2 separate regions of the Homo sapiens genome follow, and region 1 is linked to region 2. The links are contacts of gene promoters, found by promoter capture Hi-C in blood cells and fetal thymus (Javierre and others, 2016). All regions are on one chromosome and are shown on one strand. Each heading gives the region's core, a stretch centred on a gene start or on the middle of the fragment in contact. The rest is flanking DNA. Distances are from core to core; before and after follow the strand shown.

Region 1 (3,491 bases), core at 85-2,584, about 16 Mb before region 2:
CCAGGCTGGAGTGCAATGGCTTGATTCGGCTCACTGCAGCCTCAGCCTCCTAAGTAGCTGGGACTACAGGCTTGCATCATCACACCTAACTAATTTTTTAATTTTATTTTTAGTAGAGACGAGGTCTTACTACATTGTCCAGGTTGGTCTCGAACTCCTGAGCTCAAGCAATCCTCCTGCCTCAGCCTCCTAAAGTGCTGTGATTAGAGATGTGAGCCACTCCACCCAGTCCTTATTTTTTGCTATTTACATTCCCTCCCCTAAATCATGTACTCGAGAGCAGGGACTATGTCAGCACCCGGTTCCCTATCCAGTTATTGTAAGGATTCAATAAAAATTTGCTGAATTCATTAAAAAGAAAATAGGTCTTCCATCTCCACCCACTCCTCTACTAACCCTTTTCCCAAAAGTTCTCGATGGTTCCCACACCAAGTTACCCCAGTTCAGTTCTTCAGTCTCCTGCAGACATTCCTGAGTCCCATTCCCAGCCACTCACTCTCCATCATCTGCCCTGGAAACTTCCCACCCACAGGCCGGGCTCGGTGGCTCGCGCCTGTAATCCCAGCACTTAGGGAGGCCGAGACGGAATGAGTGCTTGAACCCAGGAGTTTAAGCAACTATAGCGAGACCCCTGTCTCTACAAAATATACAAAAAAATCAGCCGGGCGTGGTTGCACGTGCGCCTGTGGTCCCAGCTACTCGGGAGGCTGAGGCAGGAGAATCAACTGAGCCGGGGAGGTGGATGCTGCAGTGAGCCATGATCACGCCACTGCACTCCAGCCTGGGCGACAGAGCAAGACCGTGTCAAACAACAACAAAAAAACTTCCAGCCGCAGGAGTCCCATTAACGTACCCATTTAGTCATTCACTCGTCAAAAGTCCCGTACGTGCCCATTTCTCAGCCCTACTCCCTAAACCCCTAAACCCAACCTTCTCGCCCCAAGATGAGCTGCTGAAAATCCTTCACGCCACTGCTCGGCCCCATAAGGCCTATCCAGCCCGTTCCGTTTGAACCCCATACATCCCTTCGTCCTCGGGACCCCCCTCCAGCCCTCCTCAAGCGCCCCTCGTCAGTCTGGCCTCCACGCCCCGTCCCCTCAGCCCGCCAACCTCACTGCCACGACCCTGCGTGGCCCCTGCCGAGCCCGCGGGCAGCACCTGGCCTGTGCCTCGTCCAGGCTCTGGTCGGTGATGGCCATGATCTGCTGCAGGACGTCGCTCGTGTCGAGGCGCCGCGGGGCGGGGGGCGATGGCGCGGGGCGCGGCGGGGCGGCCATGAGCGGCAGGGCCGGGCGGGCGCTGTGAGGGTGCCGTCGAGCCTGGAGCACTACCACTGGCGCCGCAGCCAACCGCCGCTGCCTGAGCGCCGCGCCCGCTCTCGCTCGCGCCTAAGCCACGCCCACCGCCGCTATCGCCAGCCAACCCGTGTATTGCACCGCCTACAGACACGCCCCTTCATCTCCGTCAGCCAACCGGCGCCACGCACCGCCCCCGGGACTCGCCCCGAACTTCCCCCTCTCCGGGCTTGGACTGGGTTTGGGGTTGCCGAGGCAACGGCACTTCTCATAAGCGCCCTCCTTCCCCTTGAGAGAGGGCAGCGCTGGCTCCGCTCCAGCCAGAGGCCCCCATCCCTCACATCTCGCGCGGTGCACGCCTCCTTCAGCCCCACTCGCATCTCCTCAGAGTTCCTGCTCCTCCTCAGGGCCCCCTTCTCCTCAAAGCCCTCGGTCCTCAGAGACCCTCACTCCCCAGAGCACCCCAACTCTTCCTCCAAGCCACCCCCTCCTCCTCAGAACCCCACACCTCTTATAGCTTGATCGACAGCCCCCATTCATTTCCAGAAGCCCCAAGCCCCAGACCCCTGCTCAGTCCCCCTAATGCTCCCTGCATCCTCAGCCCCATCAGGTGGGCCACTGGGGCCCCTGGCTCTTCCTCTAGAGCTTTCCACGCCCCGTTCACCTGGCTAAGGCGGGGCGCAGGCGTGCGTGGTTGATGGCAACGAGGAGGTCAGAACGCAGCGCTTTTCTCCACTGCAGAAATCAATTCCAGTCACCTTTCAAGGTCCAGCTGAAGAGTGACCTCGCTTGTTTATTCATCTTCGCAGATTACAGTTCTGGGCATAGAAAATGCTACCACGTGGTTACCGAATGAAGGAAGGATGTTTACTGAGAGACTCCCCTGCAGTGTACCCCAAATCAGAGCGAATCCTCACATCTTTGTTTCTAGTCCTTAGGACACAGCATCGAAGGCTCCTAGTGCACAAGAAAAGGAACTGGGCGGTGGCTCATGCCTGTAATCCTAGCACTTTGGGCGGCAGAGGCGGGAGGATCACTTGAGCACGGGAGTTTGAGACCAGCTTGGGCAACATAGTGAGACCCCGTGGTGGTGCACGCCTGTGGTCCCAGCTATTTGGGACTTGAGAGGCTGAAGTGGGAGGATCACTTGGGCCTGGGAATTTGAGGCTGCAGTGAGCCATGATTGCACCACTGCACTGCAGCCTGGTTGACGGAGACCAGGTCTCAAAAAAAAAAAAAAAAAAAAAAAGTAATGGCCTGGACATGAATCTCTTCTCCAAAGTCACAGAACCTCCTGGAGCCTATTTGCTATGAGGACAGTCTCCAGATGTGGGCTCAGTAAAAGGTCCTCAGCCTGCTGGCTGGGAGCCCTTCCAGGGTGGGGCCCACGTTCTCTCCATTGCTGCTGGGGAGGAAATTCAAACACCATCTGGTATGGCTGGATTGGAGAGCGTCGGGAGACTCCAAAGGGGACGGCAGGGAGTGAAAAATGAAAGACATTGACCGAGTGTCTGGACAATAGGGAAAGCTCTCTGATGAAGGAAACCGACACTTGGCTCCAATGACAGAAAGTAATAGATTGCATGGGAGCCACGGAGACCAGTGCCTGTTCAAAAGGTCACCCACAAGCACAGCACTGCCCAGGAGGCCTGAACAGTAGTGGCCTTCAGGCTGGGTGCAGTGGCTGACACCTATGATCCCAACACTTTGGGAGTCTGAGGTGGGAGATTACTTGAGCCCAGGAGTTCAAGACCAGTCTGGGGAACATAGTGAGACCCCATCTCTACAAAAATAAAAATTAAAAAAATAGCTAAATTAGCTGGTCATGGTCCCAGCTACTTGGGAGGCTGAGGCGGGAGGATAAGTTGGGCTCAGGAGGTCGAGGCTACAGTGAGCTGTGTTTGTGCCACTGCACTCCAGCCTGGGTGAGAGAGCAAAACCTGCCCCCAACCCCAACAAAGTAGTATCCTTCAGAGAACTTGGAGGGGTGGGCACTGAAAGCTTCAGGGACCAGCAGAGACAAAAATTTGAAGCCACTTGGTGGAGACGGGAGATCGACAAGAGGAAATGGTCTCGAAGGAGACCCACGGGGTGCAGGTTAAAACCTGGAGGAGCTGATGTGAACAGCCAGCTCAGAGCGCCTGAGACAGAGTTGCCTTTTTTTTTTTTTTTTTTTTTTAGACAGAAATCTTACTC
Region 2 (3,275 bases), core at 63-2,562:
GATTCACAGTGGTTTGTGATTCTCCCCTGACTCCAAGACTCCAAGCCTAATCCCCGCCCCTGACCAGCTTCTCCTCTCTGAAGGGGAATGGACCCCCCAGCTGGTTGCCGGCCCAAGTGTGCAGAGCCGCGGTTGCGCGCTGGGTGGAGGGGTCCCCCAAGCTCCGGTGCTGGTGGGGCCCGAGGATGCTGTGTCCTTGCGGGCCTCCCTAGCGCTACGAGGACACCTCCAGGCGGCCCGCGGGGACAACAACGGCATTGCGGCCTACCACCTAAAGCTCCTGGGAGGACAACGGGGTTGCAGTCTAGTCGACTGTTCAGGGTGTCCCGGACTCCGGGCTTTAACAGTCGGTAAGGACCCAAACACCGCTGTCCACTGCCCCGACTCCCACCCGCAGAGGGCGCGACCAACCCAGCTCCTAGAGCCACACGCTGCCTCTGGGGGCTTGGCGCCCACACTCTCTCTGCTTGTCTTCCCCTGGCCCGAGAAGCCTGTCCAACCGGCCGAGAGCCATTTCCCTACGGGGTCTCGTCCCTCTGCACGTGCCCAGGGCTGGGACCCCAGACACAGACCTGCCCCGGACGAGGGAACGCACGGAGCTTCCCAAGATGGTTTGAATCAGTAACTGACGGCAAAAGCACGCTTGTGCCCGGCGTCTCTCCCAGTGCCCCGTGCCCTTGGGACCCAAAGTCCGAACCGGTAGCCGGGCGCGGTGGCTCACGCCTGGAATCCCAACACTTTGGGAGGCTGAGAATCGTTTGAGCCCAGGAGTTCGAGCCATTCTGGGCAACATAGGGAGACCCATCTCTGCAAATAATAATAATAATAAATAAATAAATAAATAAATAAATAAATAAATAAATAGCGGGCGCGGTTGCGCGCGTCTGTGGTTCCAGCTACTAGGGGAGTTGAGGTGGGAGGATCGCTTGGGCCCAGGAGTTCGAGGCTGCAGTGAGCCAAGATCGCGCCACTGCACTCCAGCCTGGGCGACAGCGAGACCCCGTCACACACAAAAAAACCCCTAGCTTCCTCTTCTCCCAGAATGCAGGAGTTAGGTGAGGACCCTCTGTTCCCTCCAACCCAAGACCTAGGAGTCCGAACACATAACGCCCTCCAGGCGGTGCCAGGATCCCCAGAACTGCTGTCCCCTCAAGAACACACGTCCCCTACGTGGGAGGCCGCGACCAGCGACTCCGCCCACTTCTCCCAGCCGGCTGTTACGTAACTGCAACGACAGCCAGTCAGACGCGGCAGCGCCGGATGGCGGGAGGCGGGAGTTGGAGGCCAAGGGAAGCGCTGGGCGGAAGTGGCTGTGGCTTTGCCCTTTGGCCTTTGCTGGCTGTGTGGCGGCTCCGCGGTTCGCAGGTCGTTCGCTGAGCGTCTCTGCTTAGCCGCGGTCATGAGCCGGCACAGCCGGCTGCAGAGGCAGGTTCTGAGCCTGTACCGCGATCTGCTGCGCGCCGGGCGTGGGAAGCCGGGCGCCGAGGCGCGAGTGCGGGCAGAGTTCCGGCAGCATGCGGGCCTGCCGCGGTCCGACGTGCTGCGCATCGAGTACCTGTACCGCCGCGGGCGGCGCCAGCTGCAGCTGCTACGCTCGGGCCACGCCACCGCCATGGGCGCCTTCGTACGCCCGCGGGCCCCGACCGGGGAGCCTGGCGGCGTGGGTTGCCAGCCTGACGACGGCGACAGTCCAAGGAACCCCCACGACAGCACGGGGGCACCGGAGACCCGCCCCGACGGACGGTGACAGGCGAAGAGCCGAACTCGCTCGATGGCGTGGTGGAGCCAGGAGGCTCGCCTGACTGCATGGGGGGACTGGGGAACCCGCCTAAGGTGAGAGGTCTTAAGAGACTAGCTTGACGAATTGGGGATGTCAGAGACTCCTCCTTGGCGACGCAGGGGGCCTAGAGAGCCCCGTGATGGACGGCAAGGGAGGCCCGCCTTTTCCGATGCTTGGAGACAGGTCGGTGCTCCTCCCCCATGAGGGCTTGGGGCGGCCTGGGACGCTGGCGGGCTGGACAGTGTCAAGCCAAGAGCTACTTGCCCGAAGGTACGGGGAGCCAGGACGACCCCCGGTGGACAGGGAGAGCCTGAGACGCCCTTCTCTTGACCCCTGAGAACATACCCACTTCTGGCTCCTCAAGGAGTCTCCCCTCTCCTGTATTTAACTCTGAGAAGTGCAGACTTTTTGCTGAGAACGTTTTGGGAAGGTGCCCTGATGAGCGGTGAGAAGCCCGGAATCCCCTTCTGGAAAACTTTCCCCCATTAATTGTGACAAGCCAGGACCATGAGGAAGGGGTAGGGGTCTATCACCCTGGTTGATCAACTGAAGACCCCCAAAGGCCCCTACTTGATGGTTTTGAGGGGCAACATTGACTCATTTGCCCCTTCCCTCTCGGAATGTTGGACAAAGGGAATAAAATTGGGGATATGTCTACTTCCCTGTTGGTGGTCTTAAAGCTTTTATATATTTCAGGATTTTTGAAACACCCCCAGCCCCCCTGCCACCACACACACACGCACACAGACACCTGGAAGGGACCATCTGGGAGGTGATAGGTGTGGGGATCTGACTCCTTCCGGAGCCCTGTAGACTGGCACATTGATTGAAGCGGCATAGTTTTCTCCCCTGGGCAGATCTGTGGAGGGGGCTCATCCTGGCTTAACCCCCAAAGATACCCCAGTTGGCTCCCTAATGGAGGGCAAGTGATTTAACATCTTTGTGTGGAAGAGGAAATGGTGGAGCTGAGAACTGGCTCGGAGCCCCTGAGGCAGTAGTGAGGGTCTCAGACCTGGAAATTTCTCAAACCTGGCTGAAGGGTCCAGCCTCAGCTACAGTGAACGACAAGGCCCTGGGGCAGGAGAGGGGAGATGAACCCCATAGATCACAGATATACTCCCTCCGGTGTCCCCATATGGGCCTGCCCTAGACATTCTGTGGAGGGATGCATTTTGCATCGCTGAGCTATATTTGCACCCATATCAGTTAAATAAGTGGAAATGAGTTCTTGTGGATGTAGCTGTGGGTAGGAGGACCACAGGTAAGGAGCATAGACCTCAGACCAAAGGGAGGATGGACGGAAGAGAAACAGTCACTGCCCTAATCCCGGTGGGGGAGCCACATTCCCAAATGGTTATAAAGTGGAATTGCAGTTTGAAGAATTAATTGCCGGGATAGGCTTCTAGGCAAGAAGACCAAGGCTGGGCGCAGTGGCTCACTCCTGTAATCCCAGCACTTTTGGAGGCCAAGATGGGCGGATCACGAGGTCAGGAGT

The links. Contacts are between HindIII fragments. The CHiCAGO score rates a contact against its expected background, and 5 or more counts as called.
Region 1: the fragment with the promoter of PBX4 here is called in contact with the fragment with the promoter of SDHAF1 in region 2 in 3 of 17 cell types (monocytes, M0 macrophages and M1 macrophages); the score reaches 15.9 in monocytes.

Annotation. Positions count from the first base shown.
Region 1 is chr19:19,617,353-19,620,843 of GRCh38, forward strand. PBX4 (PBX homeobox 4) reads right to left here and starts at 1,335. Exons shown (of 8, transcript NM_025245.3): 1 at 1,159-1,335. The coding sequence starts at 1,277. RefSeq lists a silencer at 1,117-1,326. The HindIII fragment of the contact is 7,939 bases long and covers 1-3,294 here.
Region 2 is chr19:35,993,876-35,997,150 of GRCh38, forward strand. SDHAF1 (succinate dehydrogenase complex assembly factor 1) reads left to right here and starts at 1,313. Exons shown (of 1, transcript NM_001042631.3): 1 at 1,313-2,437. The coding sequence starts at 1,400. The coding sequence ends at 1,747. RefSeq lists enhancers at 276-775, 1,110-1,159, 1,420-1,499 and silencers at 1,560-1,619, 1,650-1,769. The HindIII fragment of the contact is 4,511 bases long and covers 1-2,458 here.